Linked DNA regions of Homo sapiens: all the other regions are linked to region 3. Evidence: promoter capture Hi-C in 16 types of primary human blood cells and fetal thymus (Javierre and others, 2016). All regions are on one chromosome and are shown on one strand. The core of a region is centred on a gene start or on the middle of the fragment in contact, and the rest is flanking DNA. Distances in the headings are between cores, read along the strand shown.

Region 1 (3,871 bases), core at 1,044-3,543, 400 kb before region 3:
TCAAACTCCTGACCTCATGATCTGTCCACCTCGGCCTCCCAAAGTGCTGGGATTGCAAGCGTGAGCCACTGCTCCTGGCTGGGTATGTGTTTTAATAGATGAAAGTTTGGAAAATGAAAGATTTGGCCGGGCATGGTGGCTCATGCCTGTAATCCCAGCACTTTGGGAGGCCGAGGCAGGCAGATCACCTGAGGTCAGGAGTTTGAGACCAGCCTGGCCAACATGATGAAACTGCGTCTCTACTAAAAATACAAAAAATTAGCCAGGTGTGGTGGCTGGTGTCTGTAATCCCAGCTACTTGGGAAACTGAGGCAGAGTAATCGGTTCAACTCGGGAGGTGGAGGTTGCAGTGAGCCAAGATTGCCCCACTGCACTCCAGCCTGGGGGCAGAGTGAGACCCTGTCTTAAAAAAAAAAAAAAAAAAAGAAAATGAAGAAAGTGAAGGATTTTTCCTTGATAGTTTAACAGGGTTAGGAAAGTAGAGAAGAAATGGCTAAAAAATAGAAGCAGGTCAGGTAGAAGTGGCTTAAGGAAGAATTGGATTGGCTTTCAATGAAAGCCATAATTTTTTACATTGGTTGGTGAGTGACTCAAGACCCAGCAATAAGGGAAAAAGAAAATGATGAGGGGTAAAGTGGAGGAAGGCTGTAACCACAGGGAAGTGGCTGGGTGAAGAATCAACCTATACATCATTTCAGTTGGGAGAAATTTTGCTGGAGAAACACAGAACACATTAGCCTTTGCTACCATGAGGTCTCATACCAAAGCAAAGAGCTAACATTGCCGAGATACTATGTACTTGATTTTGTGCTAGCTCTTTGCATTCAGTATTTTATTAAATCTTCTTCAGAAACATTATTATCCATATTATTAAGATGAGGACTCTATTTCTTAAAAGTGAAGTGACTTGCCCAAAATTATGAGTAGTAAATTCTGGAATTTGTACATAGGTTGGTCTCACTCCGGAGTCCCAACACTATATTACTATAGTACGTATGCTGTCAATTCTAAGATGGCATTAATGGGGATAAATATCATCATGTCACTCTGCTCCTTATAATCCTTTATTAGATTTCTATTGCCTGTTGGATACAATTCAACTTGTTCTTCGTTACGTAATGCCCATCAGGATTGGGACTTGCCTACCTGCAAAGATTCATTTCCATAGCTCCACCTTCCCATTGAATCTCAGCTACACATAGTCTACCTGCTGTTGAAAGTGCCAAAGGGCCTCCTTGCCTGTGTACACTATGTCTTCCTTTCTCTTCTGCAATATTTCTCTCCCTGCATCTTGCCCTTTTCCAGCCACTCCCTCTCCCACCAAACAGTGAGTGAGTTTTTTTGAGACTCAGTTCCACTCTCTCACCTTCTTTGACACATTCTCTGAAAGCTTATCTAACAGTCCTACTGCTTTATATTCATTCATTCAACAAATATTTATCAGATTCCTACTGAGGATATAATAGTTAATGAGAAAAGAACCTTGATCATGCAAATCTGGCAAGTAGTGAACTCGATGTAAAATATTACCTATAATCTAACAAGATTTCCTGTAGAATTGAGCATGGTAATAGGACACAAAGCTATGATGTAGGGTCGGGGATGGGACAAGAAGAAGGGAGGTATTTTAAATAGGAAGGTCAAAAAAGTTTTCTCCAATGAGATCACGTTGATTAAAGACCTTTAGTGAAGAGGGGAAGTGAGCTATGAGGAGACCTGGAAAGAGAATATTCCAGACAAATGAGAACAGAAAAATCAAAAGCCCTGAGGAGGAAACAAGTTTGATGTATTGGAAGAGAGGAAGAAGATCCATGCTGCCAAGAAGAGGGGTGGGAAAGATAGGCAGAGGCTGGGTCCTGTGGGACTGTAGATCTCAACCCTAGCTGCATGTCTAAATTACCCAGAGAGCTTAAGAAACCACTGATGCTGAGACAGACCCCGCCTAAGCAATACAAGTTTAACTGAAGGGGCCCTTGCTGGGCAGTTTTTAAAACACTTCTCAGTAAGAAATATTTCTGTTATTGAAAGACACCATCAGGGGGTTCCTTCTTCAGGTTTCAGGATACTTTACAAAGAAGTAATAAGTAAGAGGAAATATCTCTATTTTTTATGAAGCCCTTCTGGGTTCTCAATTATGAATTTTAAGTTCAACTTTACAACTATCACATGAATACATTCTCACTGTTAAAAAAATTAGAAAAAAAATATAGATATATCCAAAGGCCTCCTTAACTATCTGTAATCCTTCACACAGCTAACAATGGTTATTAGTTGGACATTTATCGTTTTTGTCACTTTTTATGCGATACACGTGTTTATTCTTCTGCTGCAACTTGCTTTAAGAAAACCTGCTGAGAATGGAGTGAACCCGGGAGGCGGAGCTTGCAGTGAGCCGAGATGGCGCCCCTGCACTCCAGCCTGGGCGACAGAGCGAGACTCCGTCTCAACAACAAAAAAAAAAAAAAAAAAAAAAGAAAGAAAACCTGCTAACAGTCTTTGACATATTTCAGTGTTGGTACACTTCAGAAATAAGAATTTCAGGGGCACAGAAGATGTTCATTTAAGATTTTAATAGATATTGTCAAGCCACCTTCAATTGAGTGTACCAAATTATGTTCCTGCCAGCATTGTAAGTTAATACTAGTTTCCCCACACCCTAGTAGATACTAGATTTTATTGTATCTGAAAATGTGTCACTATGATATATAAAAGAGCATTCAATTTTATTATTGGTTAATTTTCACTTTCCCAACTTTAGAATATGTCCTCTTCTGTGAATTGCCCATTTACATACTTTGCCCTCTTATGTTTATCTTTTTTTGTTTTATTTGTACCATTTCTTTACATATTCTAAATTTAATTTTTAGCAGTTACATACATTGCAAATATTTTCTTCCAGTCCATCATTTGCCCTTTAACTTATGGAGACTTTTGTCATACAAGATCAGTTATAATGTCACATTGAGGCCAAGTCCTAAGCCCAGGTAGAGAAAGGTACAGAGAGCTGTTTGTGGGTGTCTGATAGATTATAGTGTTAAGGAAAGTACATATCAGGAAAAGTAGATACAATAGAATTATAATTTGTAAAGTAAAATTTGTTCCTTGTTCAATAAAGATTAAGCCTCTCAAATTTTTGAAAACTCCTTGGCATCTGCATATATTAGAGCACACCTCAAAGACAAGGAAATTCAGCTGTTAAGCTTAGGCAACTATAGAAGATTTTAAAAGGTTTTAACACTTCCTAAATGATATCATAAAGGAAGATGTAATTGATGAATGCTGAGTATTTACCTAAATTTGTTGAACTGGATTATGAGAATCAGAAATTATTTTCATCCTGTGCTTCAGAGAGTCTTAATTCTATAAAAATACCATTTTCATCATTGAGAGACTTCCAACTACGATGCCTTTGTAAACCAAACAGATTGCAAAGTGGTAAAGTTCTACAAACAGTTAAAATACTGTAAGTGTTATGAAACAAAAGTTCTGAATTCAACAAGCTGTGAAATACTATATTCAAAGCTGTAGCCTGTGACATCCAATTGGGGAGGTGACTTAAAATAGTGTGGTTAGGAAAGGTAGCTGCAGTGTTAACCAATGTATTTCTTTGTTTACAGTATTTTATTTCTCCATTTAGCCCTTCCCCATTGAATACATTGAGTACAGTGAAAGTATAAACAACAGGATTAAATTACTGACTTTTATACTTCAGAAGTCTGGCTCTCAGGGGCTGAAATAACAGATGTGGGAGAATTCTAATAAATAACAGTAAAATTCACAAAACATCTCCTCCCATCCCAGACTAGAAAGAATCCTCTAAATCTGAGAGGACGAGAGCAGGAAGGAATGTAATGAAAGGATTGTCAGCGGG
Region 2 (4,437 bases), core at 1,878-4,377, 260 kb after region 3:
TCACGAACGTATCACATCGTATTATAAAGAACAGAGAGTTCTAAGCTCTTCTTTTATTCGTAATTATCATTCTACTCTAACTCAACCCTGGAGCACCTTTGAAAATAAATCTCTTCCTTTCCATTTTTTTTCTTTCTTTTTACAGGCAATTCATATTATGCAACTATAAAAATGAGCAGAGAGCCTTCAAACATGTGAGCAAACTACAAAAAGCAAGCAACCTTGGAATTGAATTTCCTATTTCTTCAGGTACCAGGAGGTAGAAGACACTGTATCAGGGAGATGTTCTCTGCTGTTTCTACAGGATGAGCCACAGGCCCAGATTTTGGGCAGTCTTTGAACTGATGCTTCTGGAGTCACTTCTACGTTCCAATACACGGTTTTATTTTATTTATTTATTTATTTTTGAGACGGAGTCTTGCTCTGTCACCAGGCCGGAGTGCAGTGACGCGATCTCGGCTCACTGCAACCTCTGCCTCCTGTGTTCAAGCAATTCCCCTGCCTCAGCCTCCAAGGTGGCTTGGATTGCAGGCACAGGCCACCACGCCCAGCTAAATTTTTGTATTTTAGCAGAGGTAGGGTTTCACCATGTTGGCTGGGATGGTCTCGATCTCCTGACCTCGTGATTCACGTGCCTCGGTCTCCCAAAGTGTTGGGATTACAGGCGTGAGCCACCGCGCCCGGCCCCAGTACATAGTTTTAAAGGATAACAGGGGCCACCTGTCATAAGTCCACCAAACCAACCAGAGAACTGTGAAGACTCAACTGCCACTAAAGCTGCCAGCTGTCCCATCATTTCCAAAAAGACCAGTTTTGTAGTTCCAATTTCTGAGTGTATTAGAATATCCTGAAAACTTTTTAAAGAAATAAATTACCGGGTTTCTCATTTAACCTGATAAATAAGAATTTTTTTATGGACAAGTTTTTTACAAGATTCTTAGCAGGTAACTGGGCTTGTCTTACTATTTGGAAACCAGTGTTTTATTTAGTAGACACTAAAGTTTAGTAGTTCCTAATTGGGCGGTGGGTTTGTCCAGAGAGCCTTACACTAACTCAGCTTCCTCCTTTCCCTGCACATCTCAGAGACATCATTAAGGGAAATTTTCAAGGTTTCCCTTATGTATATGAATATTCCAAAATGCCTGTAAATTTAGTTAATAATTTAGAAGTTCTATTATGACCATGATGCTAACTGAAGACCCAGATTCTATTTTATAAAGTGTTGCTAAACTGGTTTATAGCAATAGTAATTCTCTCCTCATTTCAGGGAAACATGCTGCATATGAAAACCTCTTCAGTTTCACCCCATAACCTCAGACAACTTCCCCAGGCATAACTCCTTCCTTCTGCGGTAAGTAGCAGCCCTCTGTCATCATCGTCACTATATTCTGTCCCTTAAACTGGCATTTGTTTTATGTTTCAATAATATTAATAGTCACATATTTATACTCTGATGTTAACTTTTAATTTTAACTTGCCATTATCTGATGGAGGTGAACTCCATTATTTTTAGTTTAAAATGTTTCTCAGTTTTCTAGAGACACACCATAAGAGGTATGTTGTGATCATCAAATGGTGAAGATTTATCCCAAGTACTTTAGCAGGATAGAATTCAAATCAAGCTTTGGATAATATACTAATGTGTTAGTGACTGTAATTAATTTTCCAATGACGCAAGATATATTTAAAATCTAATCATTGTTCTGATAATAGCATAATGTTGGCATTATTTTCAATCATCTTAAGTGTCCTGGGGTGGGGGTCAGGGAGGGTGAGGGAGGCCATACAGTCATCATTTGTCAACCAGAATCTTTCCTTTTTTATTGTTTTATAGGGGTAGAGTTGGGTCAGAATTGAGCTGAGACAAACTTGAGAAGTAAAGTAGGAACAATTTTGCCCTACTCTTCCTTTTCTGCCAATGCACATTTCTGCTCAGCCTGCTGCTTAAATGCTGCCTCCATTTGTGGTCTGATAATGGATTAAAGTGTTAGCCCTCTCAGGGTTATTTGTATTTTAATAATGCAAAGTACCACATGATTTTAAGAACTGCAAGGCTAACATTCTAAAACTGTCTCACAGGAATGTGATTCTGCTTCCTTCCAATGCCTCTGATGCACAACCTCCTCTCCTCTCTCCTTAAGAAAAGACCTTGAAGCAGGTTATGGACTCCCCAGCCTTCCTGGAGTCTAAGGAACATTTCCCTTTGTGGATGCTTACAGTGCAAGCCCGATTGGGTTCAAGAGTCAGGTGACTGTAGTTCATCAGCTGCTGAATATAGTTACATGCTGATGTCTATCAGAAGAAAACATAGTCAAGAGACATTTATGCCACCCTTAAATATATATATTAAGTTATTAAAGGATATAAAAATAATTATTCCACTAGCATCACTTTGCAGTGTCAAGATATATAGAGAGACACAATTCATAATTTTACACTTAATTAATGCAGAGTAATAAGCTAGTTTCTCCATAATTGAATAACAGCCTGTGCTGAGTCTTCTGACAGGCTTTGGGCAATAAGCTTGAATGGCCTTGCTCTGATTAGTTTAAGACATGCTTGTGAGTGTCTTTTTTTTTTTTTTTTTTGGCACAGATATGGGTGGTTTAACAGAGTATATAAATGTCAGGGAAGTCCTTTGGTTATGAACAGTGAGTCACAAAATGATTATGGACATCATAGGTTATTTATTGTAGTTCTAGGACATTTTGGAACTATGATCATTAACATAATATAGTTGTGAATCTTTTTGGTTTTCTACATCTGAGGAATTAAATGGAAAAAGGCCATCGAAGAACTTTTCACTTTCATGCTTGACTACCTTAAAGAATCCTACATAAAATAAATCCAAATTTTATTGCTTACATTTTAGAGACAGTATTTTATGAAGATGCTTAACCACCAGGATTATAAGGACAGGCAGAGATATACAATCAAACACCAAGCTTTGCTTTATCTTGAATGGTCTAGATTAAAAGGTAATAATGTTCACTACTAATTTTCAAGCATATTTAATGCCAAGCACTATAAGTACATTATCTCATTTCATCCATTTAAAACAAGCCACAAAAAAGGTACACATCTCCCCATTTTACAGTTGAAAACATTGAGGCTCATAAAGGCTTATTTGCATACTTTCAAGCGCCTACATTTCTAAATTCAAAGCTCATGCATTTCCCTCAGTGTCATGCTGCTACTCTAATTATAAAAGCAGTGTGGAAGGGACAACATGAATAATTTAATTTGACTCGTGTGTTGGCTGTTTTCCAGCTAGTTACCATCTCTTTACTATGAACTTGATTAAACAAGCCAAGCTTGGCTTAAAATAATGCTCCTCAAGCAATTTGCATCTATCTTTAAGGTTGGCAGGGAAACTGACCTCTGCCAATCTGTTTTTGCTTATAACCATAAAACATACAAGACCTTGGATAAAACCTAAAGGGAAGAAAAATGTTTTTATTATAACAATTAAGACTTACGCATGAGCTATTCATTAATGCCCTGAAAGTTGACTTTTTGGCATAGGAAATACAATCAAAATTCCAGAGACATCCCAAAACTTTTCTATCACACATTTAAAACAAAGGAACAAATGAGTTAGTAGCTAAGTGAAGCAATCTCTACAGTATTAATACAGATTTTGATATATTTTAAAACTAACCTTTAACTTATTGAGCTTATGCATAGGTTATGTATCTTACTTCCTCATGGAGATATTAGCAGATTATTTTCTGAATGATTTTTTTTTTTTGCTTTGAGTTTCTTGGAATTAGAGGTGTTAAACATCCAGTATCTTAACAATCTACTTATTTTTTAATAGAAAATTATTTTAGCAGTGTTTAGTAGTTCTCCTTGTAGATATTTCACTTTTTTGGTTAGATGTATTCCAAAGTTTTTTTCTTTTTTTTGGTATGGCTATTGTAAAAGATTGCACTCCTGATTTGGCTCTCGGCTAGAACATTATTGGTATATAAAATGCTACTGATTTTTGTACATTGATTTTGAATCCTGAAACTTTATTGAAATCATTTATCAGCTCCAGAAGCCCTTTGGTGGAGTCCATAGGGTTTTTTAGATATAGAATCATATCAACAGTTTTAAGAGAAATAATTTGACTTCTTCTTTTCCTGTTTGGAAGACTTTTATTGCTTTTTCTTTCCTGATTGCTTTGGCTAGGACTTCCAATACCATGTTGAATAGGAGCAGTGATTGTCAGCATCCTTGTCTTGTTCCAGGTCTTAAGGGGAATGCTCCCAGCTTTTGCTCGTTCAGTATAATATTGACGGTGGGTTTGTCATAGCTGAAAGAAACATAGATGATACAAACAAATGGAACAACATTCGATGCTCATGGATTGGAAGAATTAATATTGTTTAAATGGCCACACTTCCCAAAGCAGTTTACAGATTAGTGTTTTCCCATCCAACTACTAATGCT
Region 3 (4,455 bases), core at 1,442-3,941:
CTTTGTGGTCTATGGAACTCAGAGATGATGTTTCATATGGGAAATGATGTTTCATCACATAGGAAAGGAACCCACATCACATGCAGAATACTAACCCATATTCACCATACAGAATATAAAAATGGTTAAATATGAAAAGCGACATTTGCAAACAAAAATGCATAGTGATTTTCACAGCAATGGTAAAATTTGCCATATCACCAATGGCAAATTTTACATCACCAACGAAGACACTTTTGAAAGTTAAAAATAAGTTAACTTTTTTAATCCTCCAATCCCATACCTATACATAACACACGTAAACACACACACACACACACTCAAGGTACATTAATTCTAGACTCACCCAGCAGTGAGTGACTCTCATACAGGCTATTGGCTTATCAGGGAATGTTTCTCATTTTACTCTCTACTGCACATTTTCTTACTGTAAACCAAAGTAAGTGACCGTAACCAATACAGAGATGTTGCCTTACTAAATCATACTTTTACTAGTTTTGACTTTGCAGAAATAGCAAATAGGTACTGCAAAATCAAGGACTCAAATTATCAGAAGCGTTATTGAGCCGATTATTACATTTCTGCGGTATTTAAGAACAGAAAGATATTTTCATCACTATAGTTACGGCAATGTAAGTATAGGCACTGAAAATTATTTTTGTGATTCACAGAATGCAGTCTGTTCTATTTCATGTATATTGTTTTTACTCAAGAGGCATTCCTTTAACCCCTATATTAAATTATTACACATTCCAACATTTTAATGTTTTCCCAAAATTTAAATGCAAAGGTAGTTTGATTTCCAAAAATTAGTCTTCTCAATCTTTAAGTGTATTTCAAAATATAAATATAAATAAAATATTTCAAAATATAAGGCTATTTTCTACACATTGTGTATGTGTTAATCAACAGTCAAATTAAAGTTGACTGTAACACACCACAGGTACCTCTCCACTTGCCACCAGTTGAAATAAACTACCGCAGTATAGTTCCAGCAAGGGGTACTGCAAGTGTTTGAACTGAAATGTCGAATATAACTTCTTTAGGAACTCTCTTAAGCATACTCTATATGGTTATGGCAGGTATGAACTTTTTAGATAAAGATATACTCTTTTGGAAGAGCCAGTAAGAAGTAGGAACACACACAAATCCTTTTTCAAAATCAGGATGCCTCAAAAGTATTTTGGCAACATTTTCAGGCAAAGGATTAAACACCTCTTATTTAAAAGAAAACAAAACAAACAAAAAACCCAAACAAGAAAAAAAAAAACTTAGTTTGCAGTATCTCATGACCAGATTTTAGGAATGAAGAGCTTATAAAGTTGAAACAAGCCTTGCATTGCTTGATTGTGATCTAACTGACTCTAATCTCCCGTTACATCTCAAGTCTGACCAACTTCAAGTGAACTCTGAAAGCTCTGGAGCCTGGTTACTAAAGTCCCTGACACTTTTTTTCTAAAGTCGCTCACAGCGCCTGGTGCTCTGCAGACTATGAACACTCCAGGAAAGTAAGGCTGGGTTGACTGATCACCAGTGTCCCAGAATCTGTTTGGAGTCCCATGAATCAGCTGGGGAAAGAAACGAGCATTTCCCGACCAAAATGAACTCATACTCTCCAGAGCCCCGCTGACTGGGCAGGGTTCAAGACCCCTTGGTTGCCCCAGAGGAAACCAGTCTGAAATAGATTTCGGGATCTCTCACTGGGCACCTCTCCGGGCCCTTCACTCGTGTAACTTGCTTGCCTCTCTAGTAACAACTTTCTATTTAAAAAGAAGAAGATTTTTCTCCAAAGCAGCGTGCACTGAGCTCAGTAACTTTGGATCCCACGTACACAAGCTTAAAGCACACACACTTTCCCCCGCGCAGGTTCTCGGGTCCGCCGCAGACCCTAACGCAAACTCTCGGGTTCTCCGCAAACCCTAACGCAGACCTACCGTGGCCTCGCCCGCGTCGGGCTCCGCGTCCGAGAGGTCGAGTCCGGACTCGAAGGCGGCGGCGGCGGCGGGCGCCTCGCGAGGACCCGGGAGCAGCGCAGCGGCGAGCAGAGAACACGCCACAGAGAAGAAGCCCAGCAAGTGCATGGTGGAAGGACCGGGGGTGGGGGACCGGTCCGCTGGCGGGGGCAGGGGTGGGGGCGCGGGCGCCCCTGCGAGGCCGCGGGCCCCTCCTGGTCCCTCTCCCCCGGGCTCCTCCCGGCGACCCCCCCTGGGCGAGCCGGAGGCGGCGGGAGCGGGTCCGGGGCTCCGCGTTCCCAACTTTGCAGGGCGCCCTCCCAGCCAGTGCCGGGGAAAGGCGGCGGGTGTCAGGTAAAAGCCTCACAGGAAACCGGACATCCGAGCTCCCCGCATTCGGAGCCCGCGAGGTGAAGCGAGGGCGAGGGAGGACGCCGCCGCGGTCCGCGTCGGTGTAGCTTTTTGGAGAGGCGGGGCGGGGGACACCAGAACACCCCGCGATGTTCAGCCCCTCCAAACCCGCCAGAGCCCTCGTCCCCCTCCTCCCTCCCCTTCCCCGAAGTGAGAGGAGCCGGGCCGCGGGCGCTGCGGCGGGGGCGCTGGCGGCGGTGCCGGGGGCGGGAGGAGGGCGGCGGGGCGGCTGGCGGCGGCGGGGCCCGGGAGCGCCGCGGCGCAGGATCCTCCAGAGCGCGCCGGGCTGAGCGGCGGCGGCGGCGGCGGCGGGCGCAGGGGCAGGGCATGACTGACGCGCCCTCTGCCTGCGCTTATGTGAGAGAAAGCGGCCGAGGGAGGGAGCGTGCCGAGCCCGGGCTGCCCTCCCCTCTCACTCTCCCTCGGAAGCCGTCTCCCTGGAGCTCCCCGTTTCCCTCGCCTCCTCCCCGGCGGCCCCACCTCCCCCGGCCCCCCTCTGGATCTCTCCCTCCCCGCCCCTGTCCCCTGCGGGGAGCGGGCGGCCGGAGGGGCAAGTTCAGTCCCGGGGCTGGCGGTTGGCGGGACCGGCTTTAGAGGTGATGCGACCACCCTGGACCACGTGCAGCGGGGAGAAACTGGGCACCGTGGGGTGGAGGGAGCCCCCGCTTTATCCTCGGCCACTCCCGAGTTCTTGTCCTCCCTCCCGCACGCCTGGCCCCCAGAGCCCTGCTCAAAGTTTGGAAATGTCCTGGGGGTTGTAAAAGTTCCAAGAAAAGGTCATCACTATGTCAGAGAACCCTATGGGACCTCGGAGGGGTCCCCTCTCTCCCTTGGTCTGTGTAGTTGAAAGTTGCCTGATGATCCAAGAACCGCAGTTCTCAGGATGCAGTGCAGGCTGTTGGGATGGATGCTAATGATCCCTTTGGAATCCTAAACTTCTGACAGGTGAAGAGAAGGGCCAGAATCTTCGTGGAGAGTAAAGAGACACATTGTCAGCTTCTGCAAGAAGTTGGTTTACTTGAAAAAGGGGGTGATAAAGAGAGATGTGTGTGAGACATATTCCAGAAAGGATGTGTAGCATCCAAAGAAAAGTGACTGCATTTCCCCATTGGAAAAGCACTGGGGTTTCCGTTGGGCTGGTGGCATTGGCTAGCTGCCTCCTTGGGGCAGGGTGAGCAGGTTACAGAGGACCACGCTAAGGGGTTTCAACAGTGTACAGAACATCAAAAGTCTGCCTTTCACTCCCAATCTACTTTTAAGTACACAGATGTTATAGGTCCATAATATCTTACCGGAAGAAGAGACTTTCTTATCTGGTTCAACTCTAGATTTGAAACTCCTCACCCATAATTTACTTGAAGGCTTAAATATCTCAAAGGACAGGGAACCTTCCATTCTGTGTGGCTGTTCACTCCCTTTATTGATGAGCAACACTGCTGAAAAGCATTTCCTTCTATCTCTCTATTGCTTTTGACTCCTGGAGTTTTACACAATAAATCTAATCTCACTTCCACAACTGAGTCCTTCAAATATTTTGAAAATATTTATCATGGTCTCCCTAAGCTAACTTTACTCCTGGCTAAATATCCCTTTTATTCCCCAAGATGACAGTTCCAGTTTCCCCCCTTAACCATACTGTTAGCTTTCCATGTTCATGAAGTATGCGGTTGAGAACATGGCTCGGTACTTAGTGCTGTAATGAGCATGCAGAATGGACAGTATGCCTTTGTTGATACAGCCTTGGATTGAGTTTATTTTCTGGCAGCCAAATCACAGTGTTGACTCACACTACCCTTAAAGTCAACAAAATTCCTCAATAATTTTTCATATGTACTGCTACTTAGTCACGTCTAAATTCCCCTGTATTTGTGGAGTTAAGTTTACTGTATCCAAGATGCTTTTTTATGTATCTTTATGAAATTCCATCCCATCAGACTCGGTCCATGATCTAGCCTGTTGAGATGTTTTGTGATTTGGAACATGGTCAGTGTATCACTCTCTTGCTGTCTTCCTGCTCTATGCATATTTGATCAGCCTGCCATAGTTATCTTCAGACATTGATAGATCTGTGAAAAGGGAACAGCTAAGGGCA

Evidence for each region. The method cuts DNA at HindIII sites, captures the fragments that hold promoters and counts their contacts. A CHiCAGO score of 5 or more calls a contact.
Region 1: a fragment that was not itself captured here is called in contact with the fragment with the promoter of VEGFC in region 3 in 1 of 17 cell types (endothelial precursors); the score reaches 6.3 in endothelial precursors.
Region 2: a fragment that was not itself captured here is called in contact with the fragment with the promoter of VEGFC in region 3 in 2 of 17 cell types (megakaryocytes and endothelial precursors); the score reaches 8.0 in megakaryocytes.

The regions. Positions count from the first base shown.
Region 1 is chr4:176,389,863-176,393,733 of GRCh38, forward strand. It overlaps a transcript of LOC124900817 not described here. Among named protein-coding and RNA genes, the nearest start is that of SPCS3-AS1, 71 kb to the left of the region's middle. The HindIII fragment of the contact is 1,810 bases long and covers 1,389-3,198 here.
Region 2 is chr4:177,054,131-177,058,567 of GRCh38, forward strand. No RefSeq gene overlaps it. Among named protein-coding and RNA genes, the nearest start is that of LINC02509, 180 kb to the left of the region's middle. The HindIII fragment of the contact is 369 bases long and covers 2,944-3,312 here.
Region 3 is chr4:176,790,231-176,794,685 of GRCh38, forward strand. VEGFC (vascular endothelial growth factor C) reads right to left here and starts at 2,692. Exons shown (of 7, transcript NM_005429.5): 1 at 1,935-2,692. The coding sequence starts at 2,081. The HindIII fragment of the contact is 3,942 bases long and covers 1,835-4,455 here.